Linked DNA regions of Homo sapiens: all the other regions are linked to region 1. The links are contacts of gene promoters, found by promoter capture Hi-C in blood cells and fetal thymus (Javierre and others, 2016). All regions are on one chromosome and are shown on one strand. Each heading gives the region's core, a stretch centred on a gene start or on the middle of the fragment in contact. The rest is flanking DNA. Distances are from core to core; before and after follow the strand shown. Region 1 holds the start of ADRA1B (adrenoceptor alpha 1B). Region 2 has its middle 31 kb from the start of LINC02202. Region 3 overlaps RNF145 (ring finger protein 145). Region 4 has its middle 9.4 kb from the start of UBLCP1. Region 5 holds the start of LOC105377683 (a long non-coding RNA gene). Region 6 overlaps IL12B-AS1 (IL12B antisense RNA 1). Region 7 has its middle 53 kb from the start of IL12B-AS1.

Evidence for each region. Contacts are between HindIII fragments. The CHiCAGO score rates a contact against its expected background, and 5 or more counts as called.
Region 2: a contact is called between a fragment that was not itself captured here and the fragment with the promoter of ADRA1B in region 1, in 1 of 17 cell types (M0 macrophages). The highest score is 5.2, in M0 macrophages.
Region 3: a fragment that was not itself captured here is called in contact with the fragment with the promoter of ADRA1B in region 1 in 14 of 17 cell types (M2 macrophages, naive B cells, megakaryocytes and 11 more); the score reaches 13.4 in M2 macrophages.
Region 4: a contact is called between a fragment that was not itself captured here and the fragment with the promoter of ADRA1B in region 1, in 1 of 17 cell types (naive B cells). The highest score is 5.2, in naive B cells.
Region 5: a fragment that was not itself captured here is called in contact with the fragment with the promoter of ADRA1B in region 1 in 6 of 17 cell types (megakaryocytes, total B cells, M1 macrophages and 3 more); the score reaches 12.3 in megakaryocytes.
Region 6: a fragment that was not itself captured here is called in contact with the fragment with the promoter of ADRA1B in region 1 in 5 of 17 cell types (M2 macrophages, M0 macrophages, megakaryocytes and 2 more); the score reaches 7.0 in M2 macrophages.
Region 7: a fragment that was not itself captured here is called in contact with the fragment with the promoter of ADRA1B in region 1 in 3 of 17 cell types (M2 macrophages, naive B cells and total B cells); the score reaches 6.5 in M2 macrophages.

What each region holds. Positions count from the first base shown.
Region 1 is chr5:159,914,723-159,918,301 of GRCh38, forward strand. It overlaps ADRA1B (adrenoceptor alpha 1B), which reads left to right and starts at 1,760. Exons shown (of 2, transcript NM_000679.4): 1 at 1,760-3,132. The coding sequence starts at 2,184. RefSeq lists a silencer at 1,594-1,653 and enhancers at 1,717-2,333, 2,334-2,950. The HindIII fragment of the contact is 3,740 bases long and covers 20-3,579 here.
Region 2 is chr5:159,129,233-159,132,811 of GRCh38, forward strand. No RefSeq gene overlaps it. Among named protein-coding and RNA genes, the nearest start is that of LINC02202, 31 kb to the left of the region's middle. The HindIII fragment of the contact is 2,746 bases long and covers 426-3,171 here.
Region 3 is chr5:159,154,233-159,157,811 of GRCh38, forward strand. It overlaps RNF145 (ring finger protein 145), which reads right to left. Exons shown (of 11, transcript NM_001199383.2): 11 at 3,177-3,579. Among named protein-coding and RNA genes, the nearest start is that of RNF145, 54 kb to the right of the region's middle. RefSeq lists an enhancer at 2,855-2,984. The HindIII fragment of the contact is 2,787 bases long and covers 168-2,954 here.
Region 4 is chr5:159,252,149-159,255,727 of GRCh38, forward strand. No RefSeq gene overlaps it. Among named protein-coding and RNA genes, the nearest start is that of UBLCP1, 9.4 kb to the right of the region's middle. The HindIII fragment of the contact is 1,037 bases long and covers 1,141-2,177 here.
Region 5 is chr5:159,310,429-159,314,007 of GRCh38, forward strand. It overlaps LOC105377683 (a long non-coding RNA gene), which reads left to right and starts at 394. Exons shown (of 3, transcript XR_941138.3): 1 at 394-586; 2 at 780-986. The HindIII fragment of the contact is 1,567 bases long and covers 1,129-2,695 here.
Region 6 is chr5:159,360,849-159,364,427 of GRCh38, forward strand. It overlaps IL12B-AS1 (IL12B antisense RNA 1), which reads left to right. Exons shown (of 5, transcript NR_037889.1): 5 at 1,360-1,986. Among named protein-coding and RNA genes, the nearest start is that of IL12B-AS1, 31 kb to the left of the region's middle. The HindIII fragment of the contact is 3,286 bases long and covers 251-3,536 here.
Region 7 is chr5:159,383,130-159,386,708 of GRCh38, forward strand. No RefSeq gene overlaps it. Among named protein-coding and RNA genes, the nearest start is that of IL12B-AS1, 53 kb to the left of the region's middle. The HindIII fragment of the contact is 1,988 bases long and covers 847-2,834 here.

The sequences.
Region 1 (3,579 bases), core at 510-3,009:
GCTTACCTCTAGGTTGAGAAGCTTAGATGTAAGTCATCCTGAGTGACTTCTGTTTTCCCCACCCGTGAATATCAAGTTATAACAAGTATCAAGAGCAGAAGGTGAGAAACCCAAGATGCAGGCTTGTGAACTGGAGTAAAAGAAGGTATCAGGCTTTACTTTTCAATCTCCAGCTGCCACTGCCCATTGCTCTGCCATATATTTGCTAGCCTATGACCTCAGGAATCAACTGACTCTCTCTGAACCACTGTTTCTCATCTCTCAATGAACAATGGTTATGCTTCTCTCAAAGAATTGTAAAGTCTCAAAGAAACTGAGTAAATGCATGGCTATCAGTAAGCGCTCAATTCATGGGAGTCCCTGCCCAGCACCAGTGGCTCAGGCCCCAAAATTAACTACTCAAAAGGCAGCTCCATCTATAACAGTGGTTCCATCCCCTACCTTGCCCCGGGGGAAAAGTATGACACAGTAGCTGAGTACCCAACTTTGGGAGAGACCCCACAGTTGAGTTCAGTTCCCAGCAGCTCTCCTCCATGCCTTTGTGAACTTGGGCGAACAGCTAAACTTCCCCATAATTTGGTGTCTCATCCATGAAATAGAAATGGTGAAGAGTGTATTCTTTCTCTCATGAGAGTCATGAGAAAATGCAAAAAGAACTCAGCACACTGTCTAGGACAAAATAAATGTTGGATAAATGTGAACTAACATAAAGTTCTTTGGCTTTTTCTTTCTTTCTTTCTTGGCCCATACTTTCTCTTCTAAGTACCATTCACCCACCTTTGGGAGTGCGTCCCTGTGACTGAATGTCCAACATGGATATCAGACAGAAAGGAAAAAACTCAACAAATAACCAAGATCCTCTACGTCCCTTCCCCAGGTCTCTGACCTCCCTCACCCCCACTCCCAGATAGCCAGCTAGCTTCCTCCCTCAATTCCCTTCATGTTTCCTCAAATATCACTTCAGTGACATCCCAAGCACCCACTTAACATTTCAAATCCACCCCACAAACACCCCACTGCATTTCCCCCTCCTTACTTTATTTTCAGCCTAACACCTGTCATCACATTACACACCTCATCATTTGCTTATTTAGTATACTGTCTGTCTTCTGTCGGGAGAAGCTACGCTCCTATAGGGCAGGAGTCCGTCTATTTTGTTCAGTTGCTATGTTCACAGCGCCCAGAGCCAGGGCAGAGAGTGGAGACTCCGTAAGAATCGGCTGAATAAATGAGTGAATGCCTGAGCGAATGAAAGGATGAAGAGAAGCCAGATTTTACTGGGGCCAAAGAGTTTGCACGGGGCGAGGGGAGCCAGATGAAGGATGAGGGCTGGCCTCAGATCCGACTCAAGTCCCTCCCACCTGCCCAATCCTAGAATTCTCTTTCCCTCTTTTAGGTGCTGGACAAGTTGCATATCCCGTTAAATCCGGGGCCCACTCCGGGAGCCCCCTATTAAAGGTAAGCAGCCCCCAACCCACCTTTGACACGGAAGAGTGACTAGCGGGGAAAATAACCCCAGCGGGCCGCCTAGGGGTGGGTGACCCGCGATCTCCACGCCCAGGTCCCGCCCTCGCGGCCCCTGCCCCCGCCCCGCCCCCCGCAGAGGGCGCGCCCTGGGAGCGGCGGGGGACGCGGCTGGCTTCCCGGCTTGCGGGGTGGCGGCGTCGGGGCTGCGGGCGCCTTGGCTGGACCCGCATTGCCCCCTAGTGCCGCGCGGAGTCAGGGCGCCGGGCTCCCCCGCCTGATGTCACCGCCGTGCAGTCAGCCCAGAAGCGGCTCATTGAAAGCAGACCCTCTTCGGCGCTCGCTGGGCGGAGGACGCGCCGCGGTCCGCAGACCCGAGCGAGCTGGGCACCGCCGGGCGCCCCCGGCCCTGCCGCCCCCTCCTCCCCGCCGCTCCCCCGCGAGCCCGGCCAGGCGCGCCTGACGTGGACCATTAAACTTGGAGCTGCCGCCTCGTCCCCTCTCCTCCTCCTCCTCCCTCTGACAGGCGAGCGAGCGACTCGGTGCAGGCAGGAGACGTGCTGCCGGGCTGGGCTGCCCGGGGGAGATGACTCCTCGCCAGGAGGGCGCCTCTGGGAAGAAGACCACGGGGGAAGCAAAGTTTCAGGGCAGCTGAGGAGCCTTCGCCGCAGCCCTTCCGAGCCCAATCATCCCCCTGGCTATGGAGGGCGGACTCTAAGATGAATCCCGACCTGGACACCGGCCACAACACATCAGCACCTGCCCACTGGGGAGAGTTGAAAAATGCCAACTTCACTGGCCCCAACCAGACCTCGAGCAACTCCACACTGCCCCAGCTGGACATCACCAGGGCCATCTCTGTGGGCCTGGTGCTGGGCGCCTTCATCCTCTTTGCCATCGTGGGCAACATCCTAGTCATCTTGTCTGTGGCCTGCAACCGGCACCTGCGGACGCCCACCAACTACTTCATTGTCAACCTGGCCATGGCCGACCTGCTGTTGAGCTTCACCGTCCTGCCCTTCTCAGCGGCCCTAGAGGTGCTCGGCTACTGGGTGCTGGGGCGGATCTTCTGTGACATCTGGGCAGCCGTGGATGTCCTGTGCTGCACAGCGTCCATTCTGAGCCTGTGCGCCATCTCCATCGATCGCTACATCGGGGTGCGCTACTCTCTGCAGTATCCCACGCTGGTCACCCGGAGGAAGGCCATCTTGGCGCTGCTCAGTGTCTGGGTCTTGTCCACCGTCATCTCCATCGGGCCTCTCCTTGGGTGGAAGGAGCCGGCACCCAACGATGACAAGGAGTGCGGGGTCACCGAAGAACCCTTCTATGCCCTCTTCTCCTCTCTGGGCTCCTTCTACATCCCTCTGGCGGTCATTCTAGTCATGTACTGCCGTGTCTATATAGTGGCCAAGAGAACCACCAAGAACCTAGAGGCAGGAGTCATGAAGGAGATGTCCAACTCCAAGGAGCTGACCCTGAGGATCCATTCCAAGAACTTTCACGAGGACACCCTTAGCAGTACCAAGGCCAAGGGCCACAACCCCAGGAGTTCCATAGCTGTCAAACTTTTTAAGTTCTCCAGGGAAAAGAAAGCAGCTAAGACGTTGGGCATTGTGGTCGGTATGTTCATCTTGTGCTGGCTACCCTTCTTCATCGCTCTACCGCTTGGTAAGTTGGGGACTAGCAGCAGGGGGACTGGGCATTTTTGGACCTTGGGTTTACTGATGAGCTTACTCTAAAGTTTTTTGTGGGTTTTGTTTCTTATGCAGTCTGTGCGTGTTCGGAGATTGAATAATATTGTTTGTTCTGCAAAGGGTTTGCAGATTGGGGAGCTGGCTAAAAACCAACTCAGGTGTTAGTAGAACACGCTAAGGCACTAGCTTCTGGAAATAGAACCAGGGAAGGAAAATCTGGTATGAGGAATGACTCACTCAACAGCCTCGGTTTAATAATTAAAAAGGATATTCACTGGGCTTGAATATCACACCGGCGTTATTTCAGTAGTAATGATGTGTCGGCTAAGGCAGCGTCACTAATGCAGCATACAAAATAGTTTGTAGTTACTGCAGACGCGGCATTTGGGAAGCAGGGAGGCAGCTCGTACACAGAAAGGCA
Region 2 (3,579 bases), core at 549-3,048, 790 kb before region 1:
TAAACTATATGGTTTAGGGATGAGTGTACAGGTGATAATACTATAAAGAAAAGCAAGTAAATGATTATCATGTAAGTGAAGATAGTAGTCACCTCTAGGGGAAGAAGGGGTTTTGATTGGAAATGGATACATGAAGTGCAAAGATCGTTTCTTGGATTCCAGTACTATTCTGTTTTTTGACTTGGGTAGTGGTTAACAAATCCTCACTTTAGAGCCATCTCTTCAACCGTGCATATAGTCTAATGCATGTTTCTCCTTGCATATTATATATTACACTAAAAAGTTGTATAAAACATGTTAATTTGTTAATTTATTTAATTAATAAATATTTATTGGGCAACTTTAGTCTAAAAGGCACAATTCTAGGCAAGAAGTATATACAGTAATACAAAGACAGAGAAGGTCTCTGTTCTCATGGAACTTAAAGCTTAGTTTCATGGGAAAGATAGACAAAAAGTAAACCCCAAAAAAGTAATTTCATATTGCAATAAAGAGTATGCAGGGTGGCAGACAGAGAGAAGCATTGAGTACGAGGGCCTTGAGCTTGATTTGTCCGATTAGGTCTCATCTAGAAGATGAAATTTGAGCTGAGAACTGAAGGGTGAAATAGAGTCAGGCATGTAAGGATTTGGGGCAAGCGCAACCCAGCAAAATAAAATAGCTAGTTCAGAGCTCCCAAAAATATCTAGAGAAGGAGAGAGCAACTTGCAAAGAGAGTTTGACTTGCAAGCTGACATCAAACATCTGAAAGACGTGCTTTGGATGAGCTCAAGAATGTGTAGCCAGGATCAGTAGAGGAAAGCCATGAAGGGTGTGGGTGGCTGAGCTCTCTTCAAGGAAAGGCAGGATTTGCAACCACCAGATCTTCTCAAGAGGCTACTTGAAGAGTCAGCACAGCCAATATCACTGAAAGTGATTCTCACTCTCTTGGTAAGGTAGTGGCCACATGTTTTTTGGCCATTCTCTTTCCCTTGGGGAACAGCCCTCAATTTTCCCTGTGAAGAATTACCTCTCCTCTATTGTGGCAGCCTTGACTTAAACAGTGACACTGGCCGAAGGGTGGTCACACACCTAAGATTGTCCAGATGGACTTTCTTCCCCAAGACTCTCTTCTCTGCAGTGGTTAAGTATGGGGTTGGGAAGACTATGCAAAGCTGACCACCCCCCGTGGTTGTTTCAATGGCAGCCTTATAATTTCTATGTAGAAGGGATGGGGCTGGCAGTCTGTTGAGGGCAGGATTTGGGGGACCACTTTAACCTATCTTCGTATAGCATTTTGCATAAAGGTAAGAAAGCTCAACTTCTCACACAAAGAATTAGGGTAGGATGGAGGGGTTTAAAGTTCCTCCAAATATCCTCAAATATCTCCTTGGAGTCACCACTGGGTGACACCACTGGTCAGTGCCTGTCACCTAGATCCCCAGAATCTTCATGGTTCCTGAGTCGTCCTAGCCTGGTTCTTCAGCTGCCTTTTTATTTCTGGAGACCCCCTTTCAATAACACAAATACCCTTTTTGGTTTAACTTGCCCAGAGTTGGTTTCTATTACTTGTACCACAGAAGGCTGATAGGGGATGGGGACGGACCCAGGCCCTAGATGAGATGAAGGAATTTTTAAAGCCTCTTTCATTGCTGTGGTTTTAAGATAAGCACAAATATAATTAGGCCTCTCTCATAGGAATCAATAGTTATAGATGTACTGGAAAGACAATACTTGGCTCAGTATCTTAAACAGACATGTTGGCTCTACACACTTGCAAACAATGAAATCAAGTATAATTTGCAGCCCTGGGGATATAGTTCCAGAAAGAGGCTCAAAGTACACTTACCAGTGGTATTCAGAAAGCCACGGAAGGGGACTCTGCCAGAACACCATCGTCCGCAGGCTGATGTCAACACATAATAAAACAATAGAGTGAACATTGGGGGAGGGAGGAATCTGTAACATAAAGAAGATAATGGAATCATCAACACTGATCAGCATCAGGAACAAATGGGGCTGGAGGAAACCTGAAGAATTCTTCAGAAAATCTCAAGTAAGTCTGCCAGCAGAAACTAACCATGCCTCACATTTGATTTCCACTGGTATATTTAGTATATTTCATGAAGTTGTGTAATATCTGCCCACCCTGCTTTGAATTTCAGCATAGTTACAGTGATGAAAACTAACAAAAAACAAACAAAAAACCCCCAAGAGATTCTTACTCTGATTTGGGGGTGGGGCCTGGGGGGTACAGTATAGTTCAACATAATTTGTTATAGAAAAAAAAGTTTCTATTGATTCATAATCAACCTTTTCAATGATGATTTTTTTGGGGGATGTGATCTCTCTGGACTTTTTTTTGGGAAAACATTGTTTCCTGCTAGACAAAGAGCAGTCTGTTTTGAACAGTGAAACTGACCTCTCAGCTTTTGAGTTTCTAATAGCAAATTAAATCTACCTCACCAGGAAAAGAAAATTATGAAGAGGTAACTTTTATAATGCAGGAAATAATTGGTGTATTGATCTTTATGAATTTCCTGATTTCTTTACCTTATAATGGTTTTCCTTAATGGCAACACATGCATTAAGAAAACAAAGCACATTTGATGGAAATTCGTTGTCTTCCCCTTTTTAAATTATTTAGTAACATTGGGCAGCTAAGAAATTGTTTCTGCTTCTATAAAACCCCCTATGCTAATTGTGGCCAGCAAATTAGTAATTATAATAGATGATACAAAGCAGGAAAGGGCTAAACTAATGTTAGGGAGTAAAGAATGCAATTAGATGGCTCAGCCTAACGCATCTTCACTCTGAATCTCTGTGAAGAAGGAAGAAAAAAGCTCTGCACCAAAATTAAAGGGGACTCGTTTTCTGATTGTGTCCTAGGGGATTTGGAGAAAGCTCAAGCAATTTGAAGGATACCCTCAGGTTGTACTCAGCAGAATTCCTGACCTCTGCCACATCCTATCTATCATGAGCCTTTATCAGGAGGAGATGGCACATCACAAGCCATTTGGTGGCACGTAATTGCTTCGACATTGACAGCAGAGGGGTATATATCACCTCCTCTGTTAAAAAGAGAGTGAGTGTTTTAAGTGGAAGAAGACTGAATGTAAAGGCAAATTTAAATAAACATTAAAGGGAAGTTAAACCAATACAAAACTGAAATGGATACCAAAATAAAATGAAAGCTTAAATATATGTTGAAGAAAACATTTAATAATGTATGATTTCTAATCATGCCCTTTAGAAATATTGAAGAATCAAGAATAAGAAAAAAAAAAGAATCTTATAGCTTAGAACAGCTTATAAAAGCATGAGACTGGTTTTGGACGGTACATGAAGTATTGTGGTTGGTTTTGTAAACTGCACAGAGAGAAAGGTCTTCTCAGTCTCAATTCTTCTGCTGACATTGAAAGGAAAGTCTCGGGGCTGGTCTGTCTTCAACTCCTCTTCAACACTGCCAAATCTCCCTTTTAAAAAAAGGAGGAAAAAAGAGTAGACTCATGCTCTGAGCCTTTGGCAAACAATCGCTTGAATTTAATTATATTACGTTGTTTTTATTACATTTATTTTTGTGGTTACCTTTATTTATGG
Region 3 (3,579 bases), core at 311-2,810, 760 kb before region 1:
CACCACACCTGGCTAATTTTTGTATTTTTACTAGAGACGGGGTTTCACCATGTTGGTCAGGCTGGTCTTGAACTCCTGACCTCAGGTGATCCACCCGCCTCAGCCTCCCTAAGTGCTAGGATTACAGGCGTGAGGCACTGTGCCCGGCCGGCATTGTATTTTTCACAAGCTTCCCAACCTGCTTCCAACGCCCATCAAAGGTTGAGAAACACTGCTCATGGAACAACTTGGTGATACCAAAATGCAAAATTCTAGCATAGATCCAAATTGAAAATATCTTCAAATAAAACACTTGCTCATTGATTTTTTTTTTCTTTTACTGCACTCCGGTCATTAAAGAAAAACAAACAGGTTCTATACTTCCATAAATGAATGTCAAATTTATACACATTGCTTCTGGTTTTTAATCTTTTCACTTTAATCAATACCGAATATCTGCACTATACATATTCATATAGGATTTGACTGTGATTAAATGAGATGTCGAATTTGCCCAGTGTTCACTTACGGCATCCTCTAAGCAAACGGAAGAGTCTGATGACAGCAATCTAATTTGCTAGAGCAAGCTGTGGTGGAGACGACAGGGGTGAATTAGAAACTCAGCCCATCCCAGCTTATGCGGACTGTTGCCAAGCAAGGATGAGTGGCCTATGCAGCCAGCACTTCCAATTTTTCACAAGAAAATAGAAATTGAGTTTGTCATATACAATCTTGCAATTTTTAAATGGTTGGCAACTGATTCAAATATTTTTTAAAATATCATTTAAAAATGTACCATTGAGGCTGGGCATGGTGGCTCATGCCTGTAATTCCAACACTTTGGGAAGCCGAGGCGGGTGGATCACTTGAGGCCAGGAGTTCGAGACCAGTCTGGCCAACCTGGTGAAACTCTGTCTCTATTAAAATACAAAAATTAGCTAGGTGTGGTGGCACATGTCTGTAATCCCAGCTACTCGGGAGACTGAGGCAGGAGAATCACTTGAACCCGGGAAACGGAGGTTGCAGTGAGCTGAGATTGTGACATTGCACTCCAGCCTGGGTGACAGAGCAAGACTCCATCTCAAAAAAATAAATAAAATAAAATAAATCTATCACTGAGGCCTAACAACAAAGCAAAATTTATCAGCCCAGATTTCCCCCAGAAGGCCCCAAATTTGTAATTTCTGCTCTAGAAACTGAGTTCAGGATCTGATCAGTTAAGACGATCAAAACCCACTCACAGAAATTACTTCATTTAGTTGCCATGCAATATTATGCTCTCTGCCTCTGGAAAGAATAGAATTCTCTGCCATTTTTAAACTACAGGGTGGATATGAGGAGCCACCTGCTAAGTTCCTTTGTTCATTCTGTAGATATTTAGAGTGCTCCTGCCCTATACCAGACACTGGGAACACAGTGGTGAACCGAATCTTAGGTAAGTTTAATATGTAGCACAGCATATTAAAAAAAAAAATGAAGCATCTGTCTCTAGTTTAAAACTGTTCAAAAATATGAAGCTCATTACTCAGTCAGTGGTGAGGATTAAAAATACAGATGGGCAAAACCTGAAACAGAATGACACTTCAGTGATGATTTTTTTTCAGATGAGGCTGATGCCCAGAAAAACAAAGGCTAATCAAAGATCACAGAGGACTTAGAATTATAATCCAGAGCTCCTGCCCTTAGTGCAAGCCCCTTTTATCCCTCTGTGCTGTCCATTTCCCTAAATCCAAGAGGACTGATAAAGGATTGTCACAGTACTAATTTTGATGGCAAAGTGCATAAGGTGACAGACCTTATTACAAAGTTTTTAAGGGAATATTGATGCGTGAAAATAGGTATGCACTGTCTGAAAACACTGGAAACCATTAAGTAGACAAGAAAAGTGACCTAAAAAGGACTCATAAGGGAACTGATGATTCTCTCAATTTGATCAAGCATAATAGAAGAGGAACTGAATCTAATTTTCTCATCTTCTCTTCAGTAGAACAAACCAGGTGGTTAAACTTTGTCTTCTTCCTAAGTCAAAAACTCTGCAGTGAGTTGGAAGCTATTACAAAATGGCTAGATTTTGAATACGGATGGCATTATACAATGCTACTGTCCAGTATGTAAGGACAAATAACAAATTAAGTCAGAGGTATATTTGGAACCATTCACAGGTGTGCTCCCAAATTTCAAATAATCTGTAAAATGAAGTTGCTCCACCAGAGTGCTGGTCACTGATATGCTCTCTTTCTAGGACGTGGAAGACAACTTCTGTGCTGTTGTGGCTGGTGGGGCCATATCAGTAGTTCCGGCCAAGGGAGTGAGTGGAAGTGACATGTCCATACCAGGGAGGAACGTGTAATTGCTGGTGTACAGCCTTGCAGTCTTCCCTTTGGCATGACCATCCAGAAAGTTCAATAGTGTCTGCACCAAACAGGATAGTGTCTGCACCAAACAGGATATCCTTGTAATGTACGTGCATGACATAAATCTTTGTGGTTTTAAAGCCACTATAATTTTGAGGTTTTCTGTTACAACCACATAATATATTCCTCCTGACACACAGTGACATTTGTCCAAAAGGCTACTAACACACTCATCTGATTTGGCATGTACAGCTGGGATCTATTTGCTATTAAGAAGTAAAAAGTGTATTATAATGTGGAAAGTAATTCCAAAGAACTCTACTTTTATTAAAATCCCAGATCATTACTGCTAGGTCTTTGGATAAGCAGCCTTCCTACCACTAGAGGGAGCTATCTGCTTTGTCTTCTGCCTAACACGGAGCACCAAAAAGATGATAAACTTCCAGCTACACCTGGGGAGAAATGAATTCTAGCCTAGATACTTTCCCCCCGCCAACAAGTCATACTGCCTTAGTGCTAGGCTAGCTGGATAGAAGCTCTGAAATGCTCAGGCACCCCAAAAGGCTGATTCAATCTGAATCAGAAGTAAGGTTCAGAAATGTGTACTTTTTTAAAATAAAAAGCTTCCCAAACACTTCTGAAGCACAGGTAAGTTTGCTAACACTGGGTGTAGAAGATTTCAAAAGAAATGGTCCTTTTCAATCAAAGAGTTTTGCCATCTACAGGGCATTTCTGACAAGGATCAACATGTAAGTCCAACTAAATTAAAAACAGAACCTCCTAAGAACAGAACTTCAAAAAAAGCACTTTATAATGACAACAAACCACAAGAACAAAACATAATTATCTTCAAATTTAAATTTATTAAGACATTCAGCTATGTCTGTCAGTCTACATCCAAATTTGCTACTAAAAATAAAATAAAGTCACATCCCACATTAGGAATACCGAGGTCTGAAAAACACTTTTTGAGCCAAGCCTATTGTATAAATAAATGACTAGTTTCTTTTCATATCAAAATTCCCATAAAAAATTACATTCCCCCCTCCCCAGTTCTACCTGTAGCCATGATGAATGTAAAAATTTAAATATGACACATCCTTGTCAAAGAAAAGGTGCAAAGTCTATTAACAGCTTTAAAAGTGGCATTTGCAGAGTGTGATCATACAGTTATGTACTCATTCCCAAAGTGCAAATATTGCCATAATTTAACACTGTTTTGATTCAGTTGCAAGAATTAAACATT
Region 4 (3,579 bases), core at 409-2,908, 660 kb before region 1:
GTGACTATCATTAAAAAATAGAGTGGGTGAATGAATAATAAATTAACTAGAATATTGAGATAAGGAAAAGTAATATTGAGACTTCTTAGGAAAGTAATTAACACTGTTAACTGTCAGTGTAGAATAACTTCAGGAGTGGCTAATAGGCCTACAGAGAGGGTCTCATCCCTGAGAACCCTCCCCAGTACACAGGGACAAGCTCAGGCAGAACCTGATCCCTTAGGCAGAACTGATTGGTTCAGAGAAGGACATGTGGCCTAAGTGAGGCCAATAAGATTCTATCTCAGGATTTTGGAATTTGGAGCTGAGCAATACAGAAACTAGGAGTCAGAGTCATATGAATGGCAGTGTTCTTGAGAGAAGGTCTATGGATCTAGAATTTATTGTTGAGGATCTTGGACTCACCTTGACTCCTGGTTCAACGACAGGCATAACTGTGTCTGGTACTGTGCTCTTTCTAATACTGCTCTCCTGCTTCCTCTCCTCAACTCCCTTTAGGCTCAAGCTAGCATGTTTAAGTTTCTGTTATTTAAAACCATAAATAATATTTCAAAACAAGTCACTTGAGGTAATATTTATACAGTAGCAAGAAAAAAATTACTACTTTGATGTTTTCAATAAAATTCTACATACTAAATGTAAATTTTCTATAAAATTTATTTAAGTATGAATGATGAAGCTCTGAAAATTCCAGGAGAGATATATGCAGATATCAGGGAAGTAATAATAGCTGTCAATAAAGAGGAAGAACATGAATTTTCCATTTGGTTTTACGGATTACGTGATGCTTATGTTTCTCATTTTGCAAACGGAAGATTGATGGAAACTGTCAAAATCTAGCCCAGGCCCATAGGCTGTTGTCTGAGAACTATTAAACCATAGAGGCTCTGAAACACAGAACGTATTTATCTTTTTGTCTTTTGGCTATTCAATAAACTCATTTTTACAAATGGAATTGAGGTCAGGGGAAATTGATTGCCTCAAGGTCAGGAGGGCAATTTTAGGCAAGGCTGCTTCTAGAACCCTGTCTAATGCTCTTTGGAAATAAACACATTGTTAAAGAAATGTCTCCTGAAGATTGGAAGCATAATGAATAAAACAAGGTAGCCTAGTCATTACAGATAGCTTATTGGTAATCAAAGCTTGCCTTGTTGTGTTGTAAATGTTTAGATTGTAACTGTCTAAACATTTCATTGATATTTTTTGAAGCATGGGAGATATTAATTTATTCACTTATGAGTCACTGTGGATGTAAAAAAACAAATAAATGAAATTACTTCATAATGTTAAATACTACAACATAACAATTTGATGTTCTTTTTTAAGATTTCATAGTGAATGTGATTAGGCAGCAATATATTATGCTAAAATTTTCATCTCAGAAATAGTTTCATTAGCCTAGAATTTGTGGGTTGGGACATTGTAATTATTATTCCATAAGTAAGAAGATACTATCTCTAATGCACAAGACTTTGGATATAAAAGAGAAGCACACATTTTATTGTTCCTATTAAAACTGTGCATGGGACATCTATGGAAGGTCTGTTCCACCCTTTGACTGTGGGAAAATTTCTACTCTATATTCTTCTCTATAAATGATAATGAAATTAAATGAATGTAGATATTCTGCCACCCTGCAATCTTTACTAACTTTGAAGTTTTCATTTTGTTTACTAAATAAAGAAAACTAATATATTAACCACCTGTGTCAAAGAAAAGTAGAATCAGTTTTTTATAATGAGTACATATTATTATTATTATTATTTTGTATTTTTGAGACGGAGTTTCGCTCTTGTTGCCCAGGCTGTAGTGCAATGGCACAATCTTGGCTCACTGCAACCTCTCCCTCCTGGGTTCAAGCTATTCTCCTGCCTCAGCCTCCTGAGTAGCTGGGATTACAGGTGCCTGCCACCACGCCCAGCTAATTTTTTGTATTTTTTGTAGAGATGGGGTTCACCATGTTGGCCAGGCTGGTTTCAAATTCCTGACCTCAGGTGATCCACCCAACTCAGACTCCCAAACTGCTGGGATTACAGGCGTCAGCCACAGCGCCCAGCCGAGTACATGTTATTTTTATAAATGAGAGAAAATGCATTTTACTGTTAGAATAAGTGGAATCAAGTCATGATAATGTTTTTCACTCCTGTTGGTAACTTTTCAGCCCTATATTTAGGTTAAGCTTGCTATATCATATTTATTCATTTATTTTGTTTTGTTTTGTTTGCTGTGTCATATATAGATATGTTTTGTTTTCAAAACGAAAACAAAAAAATGCCTTTTTTTCTCATTGTAAAAGTAATACAGAGATTTCCAGTTCCAAGACAGTTCCAGTTGCACGTCTCCCTATTCTTCTGCTAAGTATAGCTAAAAATCCTGGACAGTATATGTAAAATAAATATAAGGGGACTCTGGAAGGTAGAAATAAGGCAGATTGGCTATTTACCTTAAAAAACATGCTAGCAAATTCCTTGGGATTTCTTTTTGTTTCATATATCCCAGACTACGTACTGGCAATACAGGCAACCTAGAAATGCCAGGGGGTTCATGTAACACTCCCCCATCCCTACCCCAAGCCTGCTGTCTCTAGACAAAGGACCAGGAAAGGAACAGCCTGGTAAGGCAGAAAACATTTAGTTAATAACCACATATGCAGAAAAGTTACCATGGGAGGCCTAAGCCTGCCATCCTTAGAAATTCTTGCTTGCAAGATTGGTCTTTGGCTGGCATCTGGGAACATCCTACAGTTCCTATACAGATATGAAACTTTCCCCAAATGATAAGAATGGCTCACTGAGACTAGACTGTTGGCAAACAATGTAGCTTCTGCTGCACAGCTGCTTTCCTTCTGAGAGTCTGCAGTTTTGATAGGTGCAAGACAGTGGGTATCTACATGATGACATAGTTTGTCTGTGTCCCCATCCAAATCTTATCTTGAATTGTAATTCCCATAATTCCCACATGTCAAGGGAGGGTCCTGGTAGGAGGTGATTGGATCATCGGAGTGGTTTCCCCCATGCTGCTCTCATGATTGTGAGTGAGTTCTCATGAGATCTGATGATTTTCTAAGTGTCTGAATTTCCCCTGCTTGCACATACTCTCCTGCTGCCATGTGAAGAAAGTCTTTGCTTCCCCTTTACCTTCTGCCATGATTGTAAGTTTCCTGAGGCCAACCCAGACATGTGGAACTGTGAGTCAATTACACCTCTTTCCTTTATAAACTACCCAGTCTTGGGCAGTTCTTTATAGCAGCAGTGAAAGGGACTAATACAATAATCAACTGTCCCCAAAACCTAGGGCACTGATTCTCTAATAATCTTCCTTTGTAGACACAATTCATGCCTGTTGTCACAGTTCCCTGTTAACAAAATTAAGTGTGCTCTGTATAATTTCCCTTGGAGAGAATCCTTAGAATCTTGGGCCTGGTTTCCTCCAGACTTCATTCCACGAGGCTATTCCTTTTGCTCATTTTATTTGTGACAGGAACTATACGCTGAGTCCTGTGAGTCCTCCTAATGAAACGCTGAACCTGGGAGTGTTCTTGGAGACCTCTGACACACTGCCATACTCCAACCAAATATC
Region 5 (3,579 bases), core at 662-3,161, 600 kb before region 1:
AGGAAGCTCACCGAACACTGTGGCTTACCCAAGATTTGTCCCTCGACTTTCCCTCTTCACCAAACCCCAGAGCCACTGGCGGAATGTTCAGTTCCTTGGAATCCCACATGCCCGGGTTAGCTCCTTTTGCAAGCAGCCTGATGGATAGAAGTGAAGGGATGGTGCTCCTTATGAAAGGAGACGGGGGAGCTTAGTGAGCAGCGGCAGGGCCCTGCAGCCCGTCACACGCTAGCATCCACCGGGTTGAGTGGCTGCGCACGACCGCGGCGGGCGGGCGGGCGCGCTGCCGGAACGCTCTAGGCCTCCTGCGGAACCCAGGCCTGCGTGAAGGTAAATGCAAATCAGCTCCGCCCAGCGCTTCCCGCAGAAGGAGGGTTTTCTGTGTGCGCGTCTGGTTTCCTCCGCCTTCAGCCAGAATGCTGGCTTTATTTTTGCGGTTTATGAGCTTGAGACAGGGAATTCATTTCCTTGGTATAATATGACCCTCTGGAGAAAGTCTTGTCCAGATATATTTTGCTCCCAAACGCCGCCCTAGAAGAAGGACTACACTGAAATGAAACGGAGATGATTAAAGTCTGATTTATAGGTAAGGTGAATTGGTAGGATTATGCCAAATTCATTACATCCAGAGAAGGTGAAAGGGAATGAAAGGGCTCCTCCCGGGAGATGGAAACCTTTGTAAAAATAAATATTTATGGTGCACATACCTTTAACTCAGCTAGTAGCCAGGTTATATTTTATTATATTCACCACCATTTCCCTTTTCTGTTTCTCACCAGGCTGTACAAGCCCTGAAAGCAAGAACGGGGTTCACGGCATCTTGATACCCCCATGTGGGGACGTTTTGGCGATTTTATTTACAAGAAAGGGATTTTACACCGGAGAGGCTTTTAAATATGCTAACAGACTGGACCAGCTTTCTCATCCCCACTGGCTGATTAATGATTCCTCCATGCCAACCCGGTTCTCAGAGACACCAAGGCCAGGTAAAAACCACCCCTTCATCCCCTAAACCTTGCAAGAAGCACAGGGTCCAGAATTATGCTTCTTTCAGGTTCTAAATAGCACAATAAAACTAATAACAATAAGCTTTTAGTTATTAGATCAGGTACATTTTACTTTACAGTAAGCTTTTACTTATTGGATCAGGTACATTTTAAAGCAATTTTTGAACATTATTTCATTTGATCCTCACAACCACACTATGAGGTAGGTACTATCATTCCATTTGAAGGATGAGAAAACTGAGGCTCGAAGATGTTAAATAACTTGTTCAAGATCACAGCTAGTCAGTGGACATAGCTGCCATTCACTGAGTGCTTCCTGTGAGCCAGGCACGGTGACCATCACATTAAACCAATTATTTATTTCATGCAATAGTGCCCTTGATCCTTAGGAAGTGGCCTCCAGTGCTTAGAATTCCAAGCATTTGGTCCTCTGGAGATGAGAAACCATGGGAAGGCAGGGGCTCACTCACCCCTGTATCCAAAAAGTTGAGGATGGTGCCAAGGACAGAGACGGTACCAGGGACTCCAAAAATACTGAATGAAAGGACAGTAGAGGTGCTTTCCTGTGGGATCCCCAATCTCTCCCCGCCTTCAGGTGAGTCCTGCTGATGCTCAGGCTGCCCTTGGAACAGGGACCTTGGCCATAGTTTCCTTATCTGTAATAATGGGATGAGAATTCCTCCTGCACAGGGTTGTTAGGGACCTCGTGAGGCAGCTTCTATGGCTGCCTTTGGTGCTTAGTTTTCTCACTTTCTTCTTGAACATGGGAGTGGGGAGACGGACTCCTAAGGGTATGACACTTGAAGATTTCAGGAGGGGGCCTGCAGGTTTATGTCCTCACTTGTTTTACACCTCACAGAGGTCAGCGAAGCAGGGTATCACCAAAGCCCCACCTGATGTCTCTGGAAATCGAGTACTCCGTGTCTTCACCAGGCCCATGCCAGCTGTGAGGGGCAGAACCAGGTTTTCTGACACCAAACCCCAGGTTTCTTCCTGTGCTGGCATGGGTCCTTTTTCTGACTTGGCCAGCAGCCTCTCATAGATGGGGGTCTGATTAAATAGTTCTGGTGATGGGTGGAGTGATGGTTGCACAACAATATGAATGTATTTAATGCCACTGAACTGTACACCTGAAAATGGTTAAAATGTTACATTTTATGTTATGAATATTTCACCACAATAAAAAAAAGAAACAAATATGGATCTGTCTCTCTCACATGTCAAGAAATCTGGGGTAGGTAGATACAGTGGTTGGTTCAGCTGCTCCATGATGCCATGAGGATCTGGAGTCTGGCTTTTTTCTTTTCTTTTCTTTTTCTTTTTCTTTCTTTTTTTTTTTTTTGAGACAAAGTCTCACTCTGTTGCCCAGGCTGGAGTGCAATTGTGTGATCTCTGCTTACTGCAAACTCTGCCTCCTAAGTTCAAGTGATTCTCCTGCCTCAGCCTCCCAAGTAGCTGGGATTATAGGAGTGTACCACCATGCCCAGCTAATGTTTGTACTTTTTTGGTAGAGACGGGGTTTCACCATGTTGACCAGGCTGGTCTTGAACTCCTGACCTTAGGTGATCTGCCCACCTCAGTCTCCCAAAGTGCTGGGATTACAGGCATGAGCCACAGCGCCTAGCCTGAAGTCTCTAGCTTGAGTTTTTGCATGATGGCTTTCATACTGGGCACAAGGTGTCCTCTGAAGCTTCTCGAGATTTTTTTCTGCTCAAGAGAGGAGGATGGAAGGAAAGGGTGATGCTAGACATGGCTCTGTCTTTCATCAGAAAAGCCAAAGCTTCTCAGCAACCCTCCCAGCAGAATTTTCTTATATCTCATTGGCCAGAACTCAGTGTTTTGGCTTTGCTGGGCAACAAAGGTGGCTGAAAAAGTGGTCGCTAAACTTACCAACATTTAGAGCTGAAGAGGGCATCGGGGAGAAAACAGTTGGGAATGAGTATTGATTGGAAAACCAGCAGGCTGTTTCCAACACCCTGCTCAAGGTCACAAGTCTGTTATGTAACCATAGTTGGGACTGGAGTCTGCTCCTCTGATTCCCAGTCCTAAGATCTTTGGCTTAGACATTTAGTACATTTTGTAGTGGCTAGATTTACAATAAAAAGGACAGTCCTGGAGACTATCTTTAAAGAAGAAAAACTCTGCATTGCATGCACTGAAATTAATCGAATGCTAAGAGGTCATGTCGCAAAAGCACTGGGCATGGTGGGAGCCAGAACATCTCACCTCTGCCCCAGGCTGGCCAGAAATTTGGGGAAAGGTCCCAGTTCTCAGTGCTTATGAAATGTGATTAGTTATTTATTTTTTAAAAATCTGGTTAGTGTTGTTCATTAAATGTCCGTTAAGTACTTTGGTAACTGCAGATGAAAGACCCTGTAGGGGGACAAACACTTGTTATTAACAACCATATGCTGTCAAGTGTGGGCTTATAACACGGGACCATATGCTCCAAAGGTTGGCAAAGAATGACAGAAGCCACCCACCATTCCTCCAGGCCAGGAGCAGAGTGGCATAGGGCTCCAGGGGACACTGAAAATCAGGAATGTAAACAAACACCCCTATTATAATTACC
Region 6 (3,579 bases), core at 644-3,143, 550 kb before region 1:
GAATGGCGTGAACCCGGGAGGTGGAAGTTGCACTGAGTCAAGATCACGCCACTGCACTCCAGCCTGGGTGACAGAGCAAGACTCCGTCTCAAAAAAAAAAAAAAAAAAAATCTCAGAAATCCCCACTAAAGAATGGATCCATGTAATCAAAAACTATCTGTACCCCCAAAACTATTGAAATAAAAAAAAAATGAATGTGACACAGTCCTATATGTATTTGGCAACTAGCCCCAAGTTGGGTTGGGCTTTAAGCTTTCTTGTTGTCAGTGCAAATAGAGAAACTCAACCAACTACAGTTTTGCAATATCCACGAGACAAATGTTTAGGAAAAGTACAACTACATCTAACACTATGTCCAGAAACAATGTGTCCCTGGGTTCTTACAAAGAGAGCACTGTATTATAAAATACAGAAGGCCTGAAGATCCTCCTTCCAGGAGACCCAAGGATGAGGTTCACAGGCCTGGTTCTTATAGGTGGAAGCATTATTTCTCAAATTTCAATTGTCTTTATTATTTCTGCCATATATACTTACTAAATTTTAGAAATTATTATTATTATCATTATTATTATTTTTTGAGAGGGAATCTCACTCTGTCACCCAGACTGGACTGCAGTGGCATGATTTCAGCTCCCTGCAAGCTCTACCTCCTGGGTTCAAGTGATTCTTTTGCCTCAGCCTCCCACATAGCTGGGATTACAGGTGGGCGCCACCACACCCAGCTAATTTTTTATATTTTTTTGGTAGAAACGGGATTTCACCATGTTGGTCAGGCTGGTCCCAAACTCCTGACGTCAAGTGATCCGACCGCCTCGGCCTCCCAAAGTGCTGGGATTACAGTCATGAGCCCCTGTGCCCAGCTAGAAATTATTAACCTAATTTTTTTTAACGTAGATTTTATTTTGACTCAGTTTTAAACTTAATCTTAGCAAGGTAGAAAAGCTAGTTATGTTTTTTTCTAGTATCGTTTAAGTCAAGTTTATAAGGATTAAAATTAAAAAGTCTATTTTAATCTAAAATTTTCTTATGTACCATTAATAGTTTGTAGGCCACACCTTGGGAAACACTGACTTAAGGAAAAGGAAAAATCCAGTATTTGGATATCCATGACCTCATTGCATTTTAATATTTCTCGAGAGGTGTCATCTTAATATTTCCTGAGAGGTATTATTATCACCAACAGAGGTGGGGAAACAGGTTAAAGAACTTTTGTAAGGTTCCACAATAACTGAGCAGAGATGAAACTCAAGTCTTTTGATGAAAATCAAGTTCTGGCTTCTAGATGGGTGTAGAGAAGGCCTTTTTCCCAAACTGAAGTTCAGACTCTCTTTGACTGTTTACCCCTTTGCTTCCTGCCAGAATGCCCCACCCCACTTAGTCCATAGTGATGCCCACCTGTGGTTAATGGAGCTGAGGCTGCTGGACCAAAGGGAGGAAGTCTGTTAGGCATATGTGGAACCCAAAAGAGGAACTTCATCAACTGTCATGGACAGCTCTGCCACTTTGTGACCCTGTGGACTTTTTGGGAAGTGTTTTTGTGGTTCACCAGTCTCTCATTAGGCAAGGCCATTTGTCCTGGGTTGGTCTTCTTCATTGGTGGAAAGTACAGCTGGGAGATTTGGAATGGTTGCAGATTGACTTGACTCTCATAAGGAACTGCCACCATGAGCTTTTGGGGAAAGACCTCAAGCTGTGGTGTGTTGCTGAGGATTGTGGGATTCCTCCAAATCTTGGGGAACATTTTGAGTCATCACTGGCAGCAGATTTCTGTTGACAACTTGAGCAACTTCAGAATGAAGAAGCCATCTTCATCTCTCACATGAATATGACTTTGGGTAAATCATCTCGAAATCTGAACCCATGGTTGTGATCCACACTCCTCCTGAGTTCTGATTTTTAGTGTAACCTTTTTCTTCTCATTTTTTCTTCTTTGTGCATCTCTTAAGGAGGTTTTTAAAATCTCATAATTAAAAAATTTATTTCTTCAAAACTTTTTATTTTGAAATCACTGTAAATTCACATACATTTGTATAAAATGCCACAGAAAAATCCTGTGTGCCTTTTACTCAGTTTATTCTAATGATAACATCCTTAAAGAGATTTAAAAATTACTGAGATATAATTGAAATATGAGAAAATTCACTCTTTTATGCATTTAAATATCCTTTATGTTTTTTCATAGCTTATTAGCTCATTTCTTTTCAGTGCTGAATAATTCTTAATTGTCTGGATATACCATAGCTTATTTATCCATTCACGTATTGAAGGATGTTCTAGTTGCTTTTAAGTTTTGGCAATTATGAATAAAGCTGCTGTATACATTCATGTTTAGGTTTTTGTGTAGATATAAATTTTCAAGCTCTTTGGGTAAATATTCCAAGAGCACTTGCCGAGTTGAATGGTAAGAAACTACCCAACTGTCTTCTAAAGTAGTATACCGTTTTGCATTCCCACCAACAATGAATGGGAGTTCCTGTTTCTCCACATTTTTGTCAATATTTGGTGGTGCCTGTGTTTTGGTGCCATTCTAATAGGTATGTAGTGGTATCTCATTGTTTTATTATTCATATATATTCATTGGGTAAAGTGCAATTTTGCTGTTGACATATTGCACTGTGGTGAAGTCAGGGCCTTCAGTGCATCATTTATCACTAGAGCAAGGCACATTGTACCCACCAAGCAACCTACCATCACCCACCAACCTTCTATCCTTCTGAGTCTCCATTGTTCATTATCCCAGACTCCACATTCTGCTTTGTGTGTACACATTATTTAGTTTCCTCTTATAAGTGAGAACATGAGGAACATGTCTTTTTGTATATGGGTTGTTTCATGTCAGAAAATGGCCCCCAGTTCTATCCATGTTTCTGCACAAGATATAATTTCATTCTTTTTATGGTTGAATAGTATTCCATTGTGTATATACCCCACATTTTCTTTATCCAGTCCTCCATTGATGAACACTTAGATTGATTCCGTATCTTTGCTATTGTGAGTAATGCTGTGATAAACATATGAGTGCAGATATCTCTTTGATATAGTGATTTCTTATCCTTTGGGTAGATACTCAGCTGGGTAGGACTGCTGGATTGTATAGTGGTTCTATTTTTAGTTCCTTGAGAAATCTTCATACTGTTTTCCATAGAGGTTGTCCTAGTTTACATTCCCACCAACAGTGTGTAAGAGTTCCCTTTTCTCCAAATCCTCTCCAACATCTGTTATTTTTTTATCTTTTTAGTAATAGTCATTCTGATTGGTGTAAGATGATATTTCATTGTGGTTTTAATTTACATTTCTCTGATAATTAGTAATGTGTAACTTTTTTCATATACACGTTGGCTATTTGTTTATCTTGTTTTGAAAAATGTCTATTCATGTCTTTAGCCCACTTTTTAATGGGATTATTTTTTGTTGTTGAGTTGAGTTCCTTGTAAATTCTGGATATTAGTCCCCTCTTGGACGTATTGTTTGCAAATATTCTCTCCCATTCCACAGATTGTTTATCACTCTGTCGATTATTTCTTTTGCTATGCAGAAGCTTTTAACTTTAAGTCCCATTTGTCTATTTTTGTTTTCGTT
Region 7 (3,579 bases), core at 591-3,090, 530 kb before region 1:
ACATGGTGAAACCTTGTCTCTACTAAAAACACAAGTTAGCCGGGTGTGGTGGCAGGCCCCCGTAGTCCCAGCTACTAGGGAGGCTGTGGCAGGCCCCCGTAGTCCCAGCTACTAGGGAGGCTGTGGCAGGAGAATTGCTTGAACCCAGGAGGCGGAGGTTGCAGTGAGCCAAGGTTGCGCCACTGCACTCCAGCATGGGCTACAGAGCGAGACCCTGTCTCAACAAACAAACAAACAAACAAAAATAGGCATGTAGATCAATGGAGCAGAATAGAGAATCCAGAAATAAAGCCAAACACAGCCAACTGATCTTCAACAAAGCATACGAAAAACAAAAACACAAACTGGGGAAAGAACACCCTATTCAATAAATGGTGCTGGGAAATCTGCCAAGCCATATGTAGAAGAATAAAACTGGAACCTCATCTCTCATCTTATACAAAATTCAACTCAAGATGGATCAACCAGTCTGGCCAACATGGTGAAACTGTGTATCCACTAAAAATATAAAAATTACCTGGGCATGGTGGTGTGTGCCTGTAGTCCTATCTACTTGGGAGGCTGAGGCAGGAGAATCTCTTGAACCTGGGAAGCAGAGGCTGCAGTGAGCCAAGATCACGCCATTGCACTCCAGCCAGACAGAGTGAGACTCTGTTTCAAAAAAAAAAAAAAAAAAAAAGATGGATCGAAGACTTAAATCTAAGACCTGAAACCATAAAAATTCTAGAAGATAACATCAGAAAAACTGTTCTAGATATTGGCTTAGGCTAAGAATTCATGACTAAAACCCCAAAAGCAAATGCAATGAAAACCGAAATAAATAAATGGGTCCTAATTAAACTAAAAAGCTTCTGCACGGCAAAAGAAATAATCAGCAGAGTAAACAGACCACCCATAGCATGGAAAAAAATTTTCCTTTGCATCTGACAAAGGACTAATATTCAGAATCACAAGGAATTCAAACAAATTAGCAAGAAAAAAAACAAATAATTGCATCAAAAAGTGGGCAAGAGACATGAATAGCGAATTCTCAAAAGAAAATATACAAACAGCCACCAAACATATGAAAAAATGCTCGACATCACTAATTATCAGGGAACTGCAAATTAAAACCACAATGAGATACCACCTTACTCATGCAAGAATGGCCATAATTAAAAAGTCAAAAAATAATAGATGTTGGAGTGGACGTGGTGAAAAGGGAACACCTTTACACTGCTGGTGGGAATGTAAATAGTACAACCACTATGGAAAACAGTATGGAGCTTCCTTAAAAAACTAAAAGTAGAACTACCATTTGATCCAGATATCCTGCTACTGGGTATCTACCTAAAGGAAAATAAGTCATTGTATGAAAAAGACACATGCACATGCATGTTTATAGCAGCACAATTTGCAATTGCAAGGATATAAAACCAACCTATGTGCCCATCAACCAACGAGTGGATAAAGAACATGTGGTACATATGTACCATGGAATATTATTCAGTCATAAAAAGGAATAAAATAATCTCTTTTGCAGAAACATGGATGGAGCTGGAAGCCATTATTCTAAGTAGGGTAACTTGGGAATGGAAAATCAAATATTGTATGTTCTCACTTATAAGTGTGAGCTAAGCTATAAGGATGCAAAGGCGTAAGAATGATGTAATGGACTTTGGGGATTCAGGGGGTAAGATTAGGAGAGGGGTGTGGGATAAAAGACTACATATTGGGTACAGTGTACACTGCTTGCGTGATGGATGCACCAAAATCTCATAAATCATCACTAAAGAACTTATCCATGTAAGCAAAAACAACCCATACTCCCAGAACTATTGAAATAAATGACAACAAATGATTCTGCCAATCTGTATCTTCTATGTGGAGTATTATTTAATCCATTTACACTCAAAGTTAGTCTTGATATGGGAAGTTTTTTCTGTTATATTGTGAATTGTTTTCAAGTTGTTTTATAAATTATTTCTCCTATTTCTGTTTTTGACTTTATGATTTGATGAAATTCTATTGTGTTGCCGTTTGAGTCCTTTTTTTTTTTTTTTTTTTTTGAGATGGAGTCTCACTCTGTTACCTAGGCTGGAGTGCAGTGGTGTGATCTTGGCTCACTGCAAACTCTGCCTCCTGGGTATAAGCAATTCTCTTGCCTCAGCCTTCCACGTAGCTGGGATTACAGATGTGTGTCACCACACCTAGCTAATTTTTTTTGTATTTTTAGTAGAGACTGGGTTTCGCCATGTTGGCCAGGCTTATCTTGAACTCCTGACCTCAAGTGATCCGCCCGCCTCAGCCTCCCAAAATTCTGGGATTACAGGTGTGAACCACCATGGCTGGCTGGTTTTTTTTTGTTTTTTTTTTTTTTTGAGATAGGGTCTCATGCTGTCACCCAGGCTGGAGTGCAGTTGTATGATCATGGCTCACTATAGCCTCAACCTCCCAGGCTCAAGCCATCCTTCCACCTCAGCCTCCCAAGTAGCTGGGACTACAGGTGTGTGTCACTATGCCAGGCTAATTTTTTTATTTTTTGTCATGTTGCCTGAGCTGGTCTCAAACTTCTGAGCTCAAGTGATTCACCCACCTTGGCCTCCCAAAGTGCTGAAATTACATGAGTGCACTACTGTGCCTAGCCTAATTCCTTTCACTTCCTCCTTTGTGTGATTGTTTTTATAAGATCTATGAGTTTTATATTTCCATGTGTTTTCATGATGGTGAATATTGACCTTTCATTTTTATGTTTAAGACCCCTTTCAACATTTTGTGTAGGACCAGTCTAGTGGTGACAAATTTCCTTAGCATTTGCTTGTCTGCAGAAGACTTTATTTTTCCTTAATTTATGAAGCTTATTCTGGCAGGATGTAAAATTCTTGACTAATAGGTGTTTTTATTTTTTCCCCAGCACTTTGAAAATACCATCTCATTCTCTTCTAGCCTGTAAAGATTTTACTGAAAAGTCTATTGTTAGTCTGATGTGATTCCCTTTTATAGGTAATTAGCCACTTTTCTCTCACTAATTTTAAAATTCTTTCTTTCACTTTCACTTTAGATATTCTGAATATAATACACTGAGGTAAAGTTCTTTTTTCAAAGGGGATTTGCCTGGGGATTGCTGAGTCTTCTGTATCTGGATGTGTGACTCTCTTGCTCAACTTGGGAAGTTCTCATCAATTACTTCCTTAAATAGGTTTTCTAAACTTTTTTTTTAAATCTCTCTTCTCTCTTTGGAATAGAGATAATTCATAACTTTGGGTCACTTTATGTAGCCCCACTCTCTCAGAGGCTTTGCTCATTCTTTTTTATTCTTTTTCCTTACTTTTGCCTGACTGGATTATTTCAAAAGACATGTCTTTAAGTTCTGAGAGTCTTTCTTCTTTCTTCTGCTTGGTTTATGGTACTGTTGGAGCTTTCTAATGCACTTTGTATTTCTCTCAGTAAATTTTTTATTTTCAGAATTTTTAAAAAATGATATCTGTCTCCTTGGTAAATTTTTCATTCATATACTCAATTGATTTTCTGATTTCTTTGCATTCATTTTCAGATTTCTCTTGCATCTCATAGAACTTCTTTAAAATTAATATTTTGAGT